4 separate regions of the Homo sapiens genome follow, and all the other regions are linked to region 1. Evidence: promoter capture Hi-C in 16 types of primary human blood cells and fetal thymus (Javierre and others, 2016). All regions are on one chromosome and are shown on one strand. The core of a region is centred on a gene start or on the middle of the fragment in contact, and the rest is flanking DNA. Distances in the headings are between cores, read along the strand shown.

What was found. The method cuts DNA at HindIII sites, captures the fragments that hold promoters and counts their contacts. A CHiCAGO score of 5 or more calls a contact.
Region 2: a fragment that was not itself captured here is called in contact with the fragment with the promoter of MRPS17 in region 1 in 10 of 17 cell types (neutrophils, total CD4 T cells, naive B cells and 7 more); the score reaches 9.4 in neutrophils.
Region 3: a fragment that was not itself captured here is called in contact with the fragment with the promoter of MRPS17 in region 1 in 17 of 17 cell types (naive CD4 T cells, M2 macrophages, naive CD8 T cells and 14 more); the score reaches 25.5 in naive CD4 T cells.
Region 4: a contact is called between a fragment that was not itself captured here and the fragment with the promoter of MRPS17 in region 1, in 2 of 17 cell types (naive CD8 T cells and total B cells). The highest score is 7.2, in naive CD8 T cells.

What each region holds. Positions count from the first base shown.
Region 1 is chr7:55,950,624-55,953,570 of GRCh38, forward strand. MRPS17 (mitochondrial ribosomal protein S17) reads left to right here and starts at 1,254. Exons shown (of 3, transcript NM_015969.3): 1 at 1,254-1,307; 2 at 2,556-2,695. The coding sequence starts at 2,573. RefSeq lists an enhancer at 1,307-1,366. The HindIII fragment of the contact is 16,512 bases long and covers 1-2,947 here.
Region 2 is chr7:55,660,625-55,663,441 of GRCh38, forward strand. It overlaps the pseudogene LOC643348. Among named protein-coding and RNA genes, the nearest start is that of VOPP1-DT, 89 kb to the left of the region's middle. The HindIII fragment of the contact is 1,334 bases long and covers 746-2,079 here.
Region 3 is chr7:55,637,170-55,639,903 of GRCh38, forward strand. It overlaps the pseudogene CDC42P2. Among named protein-coding and RNA genes, the nearest start is that of VOPP1-DT, 66 kb to the left of the region's middle. The HindIII fragment of the contact is 6,021 bases long and covers 1-2,734 here.
Region 4 is chr7:55,618,883-55,621,739 of GRCh38, forward strand. No RefSeq gene overlaps it. Among named protein-coding and RNA genes, the nearest start is that of VOPP1-DT, 48 kb to the left of the region's middle. The HindIII fragment of the contact is 1,040 bases long and covers 828-1,867 here.

The DNA of each region.
Region 1 (2,947 bases), core at 4-2,503:
CGTCTCCACTAAAAAAAATACAAAAAATTAGCCGGCCTGGTGGCAGGCGCCTGTAGTCCCAGCTACTCGGAAGGCTGAGGCAGGAGAATGGCGTGAACCCGGGAGGCGGAGCTTGCAGTGAGCCGAGATCGCGCCAGTGCACTCCAGCCTGGGCGACAGAGACAGCCTCCGTCCCAAAAAAGAAAGAAACCCACTGCTGTTTAAAGGTAGGTGTGTGTGTGCGTGTGTGTATGTTTCAATGTATCGATAGCTACATCTGCTGAAATAGCCTACAGGCAGGAAAATCCCAGTAGCAAGTTGCTCACCTAGCACTCAGAGCTTTGTTGCTAAGTACCACTCCCCACTGATATTTTTCGTTTGAAAAACTTCTGATACAATAACTGGTCAGGGAAAGTATAGGTAAATCTGGACCAGCCAGGCACAGTGGCTCATGCCTGTAATCCCAGAACTTTGGGAGTCCGAAATAGGTGGATCACTTGAGGCCAAGAGTTCAAGAACAGCCTGGCCAACATGGTGAAATCCCGTCTCTACTAAAAATAAAAAAAATTAGCTGGACGTGGTGCCAGATGCCTGTAGTCCCAGCTACTCAGGAGGCTGAGGCAGGAGAATCCCTTAAACCCAGGAGGCAGAGGTTGCAGTGAGTCAAGATCATGCCACTGCACTCCAGCCTGGGCAACAAGAGTGAGACCCTGTCTCAAAAAAAAAAAAAAAAAAAACACTTTTAGGCCAGGCACGGTGGCTCACGCCTGTAATTCCAACACTTTGAAAGGCCAAAGTGGTTGGATCACTTAAGGCCAGGAGTTCGAGACCAGCCTGGCCAACATGTGAAACCCTGTCTCTACTAAAAATACAAAAATTAGCTGGGCATGGTGGTGCACGCCTGTAATCCCAGCTACTTGGGAGGTTGAGGCAGAAGAATCGCTTGAACCCGGGAGGCAGAGGTTGCAGTGAGCAGAGATCGCGCCACTGCACACCAGCCTGGGCGACAGAGCGAGACTCCGTCTCAAAAAAAAAAAAAAAAAAAAGAAACAAAACAAAAGAATGAAAGAAAAGTCCGAAACCTCCTGCGCCACTGTCCACTAGCTGCGCGCGTTAGGAAACCAGAGGTCAGCGCCCCCGACCCCGCCACCGCCGCGGGTCCCTTTAAGGGAGAGTGGGCGGGGTCCTGCCTTTAACTCCGCCCACGGCTAAGGAGATGCACGGCCTACGAGAGGGGTAGTGTGGGACTGAGCCAATGCGTACGGCGTGACGCCATCCCGCTGCGACCGGCGCTCCCCGGGGCAGGTGGCTGCATAGTCTTGGCGGAGGTGAGTCTCGTGGTGGAGGTGAGGGCAGGCTCCGGGGTATTGCTGCCGGGGGAGGATTTGCTGGGGACCCAAGGCACCCTCGCGTGAGAGCCCTGAGAGCGAATCGCTTCGTCTGACCTCGGGGTTGTCTGGGGCGAGGGCACGAATCACCCCAACCTTTCCGAAGCCTGGTGGAATGGCTTGTGAACTGATCTCAAAAGCAGCCCAAGTCATCCGTCGCTGGGCCGGGGAGGGGGACACCGCGGCGGCCCCGCCGAGTGCTACCTGGGCACTGAGCCTGTGGGGAGAGGCGACCCAGCGGGGTGGAGAGAGATAAGGGACCAGTAACGTCCAGCGTTTGTCCGTGGTATTGAGCGTTCTGTGGGTCAAATTCTCAAAGCACTCCTGCGAAATAGGCCTGCCCATTTTGCAGAAGGGGAACGTGAGGCTTGGCGAAGTTAAAGTTACCGCTTTGTAAGCGCTGTAAAGATGAGAGGTTGGGTAGTGGGGAACGTGTAAGCATCTCTGAAATGGTGATTCAAGCCGGGCGCGGTGGCTCACGCCTCTTAATCCCAGCACTTTGGGAGGCTTGAGGCGGGCGGATCACCTGAGGTCAGGAGTTCGAGACCAGTCTGGCCAACATGGTGAAACTCTGTCTTTACTAAAAATACAAAAATTAGCTCGGCGTGGTGGTGCGGGCCTGTAGTCCCGGCTACTCGGGAGGCTGAGGGAGAAGAATCGCTTGAACCCGGGAGGCGGAGGTTGCAGTGAGCCGAGATCGCGCCACTTCACTCCAGACTGGGCGAAAGAACTAAACTTCATCTAAAGAAAAATACATATGGCCGGGCGCGGTGGCTCACGCCTGTAATCCTAGCACTCTGGGAGGCCGAGGCGGGCGGATCACGAGGTCAGGAGATCAAGACCATCCTGGCTAACACGGTGAAACTCCATCTCTACTAAAAATACAAAAAAATTAGCCGGGCGTTGTGGCGGGCGCCTGTAGTCCCAGCTGCTCGGGAGGCTGAGGCAGGAGAATGGCGTGAACCCAGGAGGCGGCGTTTGCAGTGAGCCAAGATCGCACCACCGCACTCCAGCCTGGGCGACAGAGAGAGACTACATCTAAAAAAAAACAAAACAAAACTGTTTCTGGGTGGAGGGGGGAACGAAAAAGAAAAAAACTGTTTCTGGACTAACCTGGACAGTTCTTGTGACAAAATTCATGTGGCATCATAACCACCAGAATATGAGACTTTGGAATTTGCTTTTCAGGTGACCAAAGCCACGTAATGTCCGTAGTTCGCTCATCCGTCCATGCCAGATGGATTGTGGGGAAGGTGATTGGGACAAAAATGCAAAAGACTGCTAAAGTGAGAGTGACCAGGCTTGTTCTGGATCCCTATTTATTAAAGGTGAGAAACATTCTTGTTTCCGGGTGGCTTTGGTAAATCACCACCATGTCCTGGGTCCTAAGCAAAAAAACATTTATCTCTCAGTAAAGATGTCTTGTCTCTCATCTGCTTTGAGCCAGGCATTTTGCTGGTCTGTAGGTATAACACGGTTTACACATTCCAAGAAAACAGTTAATGTCAATCCACTCTAACTGCTGTAGTCATTCTGTATGCAAAGTACTGGCCGGATGAGGTGGCTCACACCTGTAATCC
Region 2 (2,817 bases), core at 163-2,662, 290 kb before region 1:
TTCTTGGGGTTAAGAAGCAATTATATCTCCTAGTATAAAAGTTCAGCAACATGATGATCCATACAATTTTCCTGAACAAAAATGTCTGAATTCAATAGCACAATCTTATAATCCTCTGTTAGTTTACACAAAGTAAGGGTGCATACTAAACAATGATAACAAAAGATCTTGCTAAAATTTCAGTGCTACTGAGTTGGAAAGAATAATTTTCCTTTAGATGGAATGATTATTTTATTTTAAAAAGGTAAGTGGAGTGGCACCACTACTAATTGTTTGACATTTCTCCCATGAAATTCCCTCTCCTGAATACAAGCTGGCATTGGTAATTGGTTACTAGTGAACATCATATGGCAGAACTGGGTGCGACTTCTTGTTTTTTTTTTTTTTAGACAGAGTCTCGCTCTGTTGCCCAGGCTGGAGTGCAGTGGCGCTATCTTGGCTCTCTGCAAGCTCCACCTCCAGGGTTCACACCATTCTCCTGCCTCAGCCTCCCGAGTAGCTGGGACTACAGGCGCCCACCACCACGCCCAGCTAATTTTTTTTTATTTTTAGTAGAGACAGGGTTTCATCATGTTAACCAGGATGGTCTCGATCTCCTGACCTCATGATCCACCAGCCTCGGCCTCCCAAAGTGCTGGGATTACAGGCGTGAGCCACCGCACCCAGCCAGAACTGTGTGTGACTTCTAACGTTGGATAAGAAAATGTATTATAATACAGCTTCCACCTGACTTTCTCTCTAGGGAAGCTTGTTCTTAGAATCCAGCCACCACAATGTAAGGAAGACTGAGCCAAATGATGAATCCTCATGTAGGTGTTCCAGCTGACTGCCCCAGCTTCACTTCCCAGCCAAAAGCCAGCTTCATCTGCCACACAGGCAAATCAACAGGACTTTAATATTTTCAATGATTCTAGTCTAAGTTTCAAGTCACTTCATCTGATACCATAGAAAGTGAGATAGCCCCACTGAGCCTTGCCTAAAACTGCAAATTGTGAACAAAATAGATACTGTCTTGAGACAATGAATTTTGAGGTGGTGTATTACACAGCAATAGATAACTGATACAGATACTGACACTAAATATGGGCTACTGCCATTAAAAGATACTACTAAAACCTGGCAGGATACCATTGGGCCAGGAGCTAGGTAGAGGCTGAAAAGACCTAGAGAAGAATAATGAACACTGAAAGGGCTTCAAAGAAACTGTTAGTGGAAGCCTGTCCCACTCACCCTGAGACTGAAGCTGTGGCACCTAAATCAGCATCAGTTTAAGAGCCCAAACCGCCCCCTACTACCAGACTACATCCTGCCCAGAGACCCAACAGCCCCTGCATCTCCACATTCAGTGGAGCACCGCTGACATTTCACAACATTCACAGAGAGGACTTGCGGCATCATGCACCAGCTGGACCCACAACACCTGATGTGGCTGGGTCCCCAAAACCCTAACCTTGCAGCACCCTACACCCTTGGAAATAGTTGGTCCGGCCCACCAGAAAAGGTACTCTAGGACAAAGGAATCCTAAGTATGTGCTCCTAGAGCCTGAGAGCCACCTGACTGAGGCCATGACCACCAACGCAACCCTGTCCCCTCCAGCGGCAGCACTGCTGCACACCTGTGCACACCTTCAGGAGGCCTGAGGACTGACTCACGCATGTGCACCATCCTAAATCCTGAAAGCCAGCCTGCCCAACCCACCAGGGGCAGTGCCTGTGTGAGCCATATGGGAGCCTGAAGACAAGGTCACCTTGCTTGCCACTGCCACTATTGCTGCCAGTGCCTACATATGCCGTCCAGGGCCTGAAGGAGGAGCCCATCCCACCCAGGCCTATATGTGCATTCTGGGGCCTGAAGACAAGTCTGCCCCATCCACCACTATCACCACAAGTACCTGTATTCTGGGAGCCTGAGGATTGGCATCCCTATTTCTATAAGTGTCCATACACACTGTCAAGGGCCTGAGAACAATTCCATTGCCCCACTGGCACCCACACATGTCCTCCAGGGCCTGAGGACAGGGCTGCCCCACCAGCCACTGACAAAGGCTCCTGCATGTGCACTCAGTGAACCCATAAACAAGCTTGCCCCACCCATGGCTATAGAAACCCACCCAAATGTGCCACACAAGGGCCCAGGAAAATGCCCAGCCAGACTGCTGTCACCATTACTAGTGCCCGTTCATGCAACCCAGGGTCTGGCCCCTCACTGCTATTGTCATTGTAGGTACCACAAGTTCCACCCAGGGTCCTTAGGACTGTCATGCCACTGCCACCTCTGATCCCAGCACACACTACCTGGAGGCCCAAGCACCAGCCCACCCAGGCAACCCACTGCCTCCCAAGTAGCTGAGATTACAGGCACCCGCCACCACGCCCAGCTAATTTTTGTATTTTTAGTAGAGACGGGGTTTTGCCACGTTGGCCAGGCTGGTCATGAACTCCTGACCTCAGGCAATCCACCCGCCTCGGCCTCCCAAAGTGCTTGGATTACGGGCATGAGCCACTACACCCAGCTGAAAGAAAAATCTTAAAGGCAGGTAGAGAAAGGGTCAGATGACATACCATGGGAACTCCATTAGGCTAACAGTGGATTTTTCAACAAAAATCTTACACATCAGAACAAAGTGAGAACCTATTTTCAGCATCCTAAAAGAAAAGTCATTTCAACCAAGAATCTCATATCCTGCCAATCCAAGCTTCATTAGTAAAGGAGAAAAACAAAACTTTTTCAGAAAAGCAAATTCTAAGAAAATTCATTACTGCTAGAAGTGTTATAAAAAATTCTTAAGGGAGGCTGGGCACGGTGGCTCACACCTG
Region 3 (2,734 bases), core at 41-2,540, 310 kb before region 1:
GACATGTTCTGTAAATGTCAGACTCATTTGGTCAAGTGTGTAGCTTAACTCCAATTTTGTGGTTGTTGCTGATTTTCTGTCAGAATAATCTGTTCCTTCCTCAAGAGTGTTGAAGTACCCTACCATTGATATATTGCAGTTTTTCTCTCTGTTTAGATATATTAATGTTTGCTTTATGTACTTGGGTGCTCTTGCTTTGAATATATATTTATAACTGTTATATCTTCTTGGTAAATTGACCCCCTTTTTTTGACAGGGAAAAACTTTTTTAAATTACAAACTCAATTCATTTGGTGTATTTCAAAGGTGCAATACTTTTCTTCATTTATCAGTGAAAGAAGTTAGAAATTAACTTCCCCCAAAAATCAGCAAATGGCAAACAAATGTCCTTGAAAGTCACAATCACATATAGTGTGTCCTAGAAAAGAGGCGGGACTAGACAGGCTCCACCCACTTTCATGAGTTTCATCAAATACTGGACCTACTCCAGGGTGGAGAGAACGGGCAACTTTCAAAAAGGAGTATGTTATTAAATGAGGCATTTACTATACTCCTTCCTAAGAGCACCAGATGGGGAATATGTTTTCTAAACTAGATCTAGAAAGTGGAAGGGGGAATCAATCCATCCTCCTCCCCTTAAGGGCTATCCACTGGTTAATTAAGTAAAAAAAACAAGACTAAAAAACCCCACATACAGTCCTTGAAAAGAAGAGGAGAAAAAAAAACCCCAAACACTAAGATGTCCCAGATTACTCTCCAGAGTGGAACCAGGGAGCAGCTTCAACAATTCCAATTAGTCTGTATGTCTTGCTTTTAAACAAACAAAAAATTTTTTTCAAACTACAAAACAAAAACTAGTACTAATCACTTTTCTGACAATACACAATTACTCAAAATTAACTAGTACTCGGAGGGGGAAGGGGGCATACTAGATGGCACCTTAATACCTATGGGCCTTGTCTCACACGAGTGCATGTGGGTAGGTGCAGGGCATTTGTCATTATTGCAAAAAATTTTTTTAATTTTTAATCTTTAGTTTGATTTAAACATTACTTTTAGTATGATGCCAACACCAGCTGTGCAGAAAGGGTTCTGGAGAGATGTTCATAGCAGCACACACCTGCGGCTCTTCTTTCTGGAGGCTCCAGGGCAGCCAATATTGCTTAGTCAAATACGTTCCTTAGGCCTTTCTGCGTGAGTGCAGAACACTCCACATACCTGACAGCCTTCAGGTCACGGACCAGCTTTTCAGCAGGCTCTGGAGTGATAGGCTTCTGTTTGTTCTTGGCAAGTTTCTCAATAGAGGAGTCATCTCTGAGATCAGTTTGGGTCCCAGCAAGCAAGAGAGGAGTCTTTGGACAGTGGCAAATTATCTCAGGCACCCACTTTTCTTTCACATTTTCAAATGAAGATGGAGAGACCACTGAAAAACAGACTAGACATACATCTGTCTGTGGATAACTCAGTAGTAGTAATCTGTCATAATCCTCTTGCCCTGCAGTATCAAAAAGCCCAAGAGTATATGGTTCTCCAGCAATCATAACTGTGACTGCATAGTTGTCAAAAACAGTCAGCATATGTTCTGATGGAAATTTGTTTGTTGTGTAGGATATCAGGAGACTTGTTTTACCAATAGCACCATCGCCCACAACACCACACTTAATTGTCTGCATTGCTGAAATAGTTTTGTATCCACCTTAAATATTTCAAATCTGATGTTGACCTCAGCTTCTCCACTGGGGTGTTCGAAATTGACCCCTTTATCATCATATAGTGACCTTCTTTATCTCTGTTTACATTTTACTTGTGGTCTATTTTATATGATATAAATATTGCTACTCCTGCTCTTTTTTGGTTTCCATTCGCATGGAATTTTTTCTCATCCTTTCATTTTCAGTTTATACATGTCTTTATTGATGAAATCGGTTCGTTGTAGGTAGTGTATATATGAATCTCGTTTCTTTATTCATTCATCCACTCAATGTCTTTCAATTGAAAAAATGAGTTCATTCTTTTGATAAATAAGTACTGATAAATAAGTACTATTGTCGTTTTGTGATTTGTATCTTTGTTGTTTTGTAACTCCTCTCTTTCTCACTGTCTCTTCTTCGTGGTTAATTTTCTATGGTACTGTGTTTTAATTTGTTGCTTTTTTATTTTCAGTGTATTTATTAGAAAATTTTGCTCTGTGATTATGAAGATTACAAAAATATCTTAAAGTGATGACTTTGATCACAAAGAAAATAATATAAACTAAGAAAGCTCTACACTTCATCTTCTCCCCATTTTGAATTTCATTGTGTCACTTTATGTATCTTTGTATTTCTTCTCTCTTAACAGGTTTCTGTAGATACTTTTGTTTTTCATAGATTTGTCTTTTAGTCATCACACTAAAGTGATAAGTGGACTGCATACTACAGTTACAAAATTTTGAGTTTGTCTGTTGGCTTATTTTTACCAATGAGTTTTATAACTTTAGATGTTTTCTTTTTTGCACATTTGCGTTTTTCTCTTTTCAGACTGAAGAAATTTCTTTGGCATTTCTTGTGAGATGGGTCTGATGAGATGCATTCTCTTAACTTTTGTTTGTCTGAGAAACACTATCTCCCCTTCATGTTTGAAGGATAGCTTTGCTGGTTACAGTATTCACAGTTGACAATTTTAGTCTTTCAGCACTTTACATGTACTCCCACTTTCTCCTGGGTTGGACAGTTGCCATTTAGAAGTCTGCTGC
Region 4 (2,857 bases), core at 98-2,597, 330 kb before region 1:
GCATAAAAGTTTGGAAAATTTGCAGCCTGACAATGCCATAGAAAAGAAAGCCCCATTTTCTGGGGAGAAATTCAAGCCAGCTGCAGAAATTTGCATAGTAATGAGGATTTAAATATTAATCACCAAGATAATGAGGAAAATTATCTCCAGGGCATCTCGGAAACCTTCACAGCAGACCCTCCCATCACAGGCCTGGAGGCCTAGGAGGGAAAAATGGTTTTGTAGGGACCTAGGGCCCCCCTGCTCCATGCAGCCTTGGGACAGGGGCTCTGCATCCCAGCTGCTTCAGCTCTAGCCATGGCTAAAAGGAGCCAAAGTACAGCTCAGGCCATTGCTTCAGAGCGTGCGAGCCCCAAAGCCTTCACAGCTTCTATGTGGTGTTTGTCCTGTGGGTGCAAAGATGACAAGAATTGAGGTTGGGGAACCTCCACCTAGATTTCAGAGGATGTATGGAAATCCCTGGATGTTCACGCAGAAGCCTGCTGCAGGGGCAGAGCCTTCACAGAGAACCTCTGCTAGGGCAGTGAAGAAGGTAAGTTTGGGGCTGGTAGCCCCATCAGAGTCCCCAATGGAGCACTGCCTAGTGAAGGTGTGAGAACAGGGCCATCATCCTCCAGACCCCAGAATGGTAGATATATTGTCCGCTTGCACCATGTGCCTGGAAAAGCCACAGGCACTCAACATCAGCCCATGAAAGCAGCCAGGAGAGAGGCTGTAAACTGCAAAGCCCTGGGAGTGGAGCTGCTAAGGCTGTGGGAGCCCACCTCATGCATCGGCATGACATGGATGTGCGACATGGAGTCAAAGGAGATTATTTTGGAATTTTAAGCTTTGACTGCCCTATTGGATTTTGGGTTTGCATAGGTCCTGTAGCCCCTTTATTTTGGCCACTTTCTCTTATTTGGAACAGGTGTATGTACCCAATGCCTGTACCTCCATTTTATCTAGGATGTAACTAACTTGCTTTTAATTTTACAGGCTCATAGGTGGAAGGGGCTTGTCTTGTCTCAGATGAGACTTTGGACTTGCTTTTTTGGGTTAATGCTGGAATGAGCTTAGACTTTGGGGTACTGTTGGAAAGGGCATGATTGTGTTTTGAAATGTGAAGACATGAGATTTGGGAGGGGCCAGGAGAAGAAGGATATGGGTTTTTTGTGTCCCCACCCAAATCTCCACTTGAGCTGTAATCCCATAATCCCCACATGTCATGGGAGGGACCCAGTGGGAAGTAATTAAATCATGAGGGCAGTTCCCCTCCATGCTGTTCTTGTGATACTGAGTTCTCACGAGATCTGATTGTTTTATAAGGGGCTTCCCTCTTAGCTTGGCACTCATTCTCTCTCCTGCCACCCTGTGAAGAGGCGCCTCTGCCATAATTGTAAGTTTCCTGAGTCCTCCCCAGCCATTTGGAACTGTGAGTCAATTAAATCTCTTCTCTTTATAAATTACCCAGTCTCAGGTATTTCTTCATAGCAGCGTGAAAACTGACTAATGCTCATGTCTTGTGCAGTAAGATGGATACAGCTGGAGCCATTATCCGAACTAATCCAGGAACAGAAAATCAAATACCACATATCCTCTCTTATACATGGAAGCTAAACATTGGGTACACATGGACAAGATGGGAATAATAGACACTGGGGGGTTACTTGGTTGGGGGCAAAGGCTAAAAATCTACCTACTGGATACTATGCTCACTACCTGGGTGATGGGATCATTCATGCTCTAAACCTCAGCATCACACCATGTAACAAACATGTTACCCATGTAACAAACTTGCACATGTACCTCCAACTCTAAAATGAGATGAAATTATAAAATAAATTGTAGACACATTTGAAACCGGATTCTAAGACTGTTACTCTTAAGCTTATTTGTTAGTGTTAATTCTGTGATTTTAAGTTGTTACTATTGAGAAAAGAAAAAGAATAGCTCAGAACAGTCTGAGCTATGCAAAATTTACTAGGCCCAGAGAGACATGAGTATGGGGCTTCAGTTCTACCCCTAACACCCATGCCCAGGGACAACTGTTTAAAGTCATTTTTGTTCCTTAATAGCTGACCCACCCATTATACTCATGTTTCTGAAATTTTTGATACAAAGAACAATGTACAGCCAATCAATAAATTATGTTATGTTTGGTAAACAATTTGCATGGTGGCTTACACCTGTAATCCCAGCACTTTGGGAGGCCGAGATGGGCGGATCATGAGGTCAGGAGTTCGAGATCAGCCTTGCCAATATGGTGAAACCCCGTCTCTATTAATAATACAAAAATTAGCCAGGTGTGGTGGTGTGTGCCTGCAGTCCCGGGTACTTGGGAGGCTGAAGCAGAAGAATCACCTGAACCTGGGAGGTGGAGGTTACAGTGAGCCGAGATCACACCACTGCACTCCAGCCTGGGCGACAGAGAGAGGCTCTGTTTCAAAAATAAATAAATAATAAATAAAAATAAATTTAAAAATTTGGGAGCTGCCTCTTCTTTTTTCCTCAAAAATTCCCTTGTAACTATTGCTAATTGGAGTGTGTAATTTATATCATACAAATTATGATTTGAATTTGAAATCATTCAATCAACTTGAATCTATACTCCAGGGTAGATATCCTTAAGCTTTGTGCTTGAATAAACTCTCTTGAAAAAGCAACTTGAATAAAATAAACATTCCTGATTATTTTAGGTTAACATTTTGGTAACCACAAAAGGGTCCAAAGTGAACTTCCAGAGATTCCTCCATTTCACCAGCAATCAAGACCTTGGTACCAGCACAAACACATTTTGATTCACCCTGCCTTGCTGAGCCTCCACTGGTCTCTTTTAAGGAGTCTCTTCTTGGAGTGTGAGCCTCTCTGATTTTTG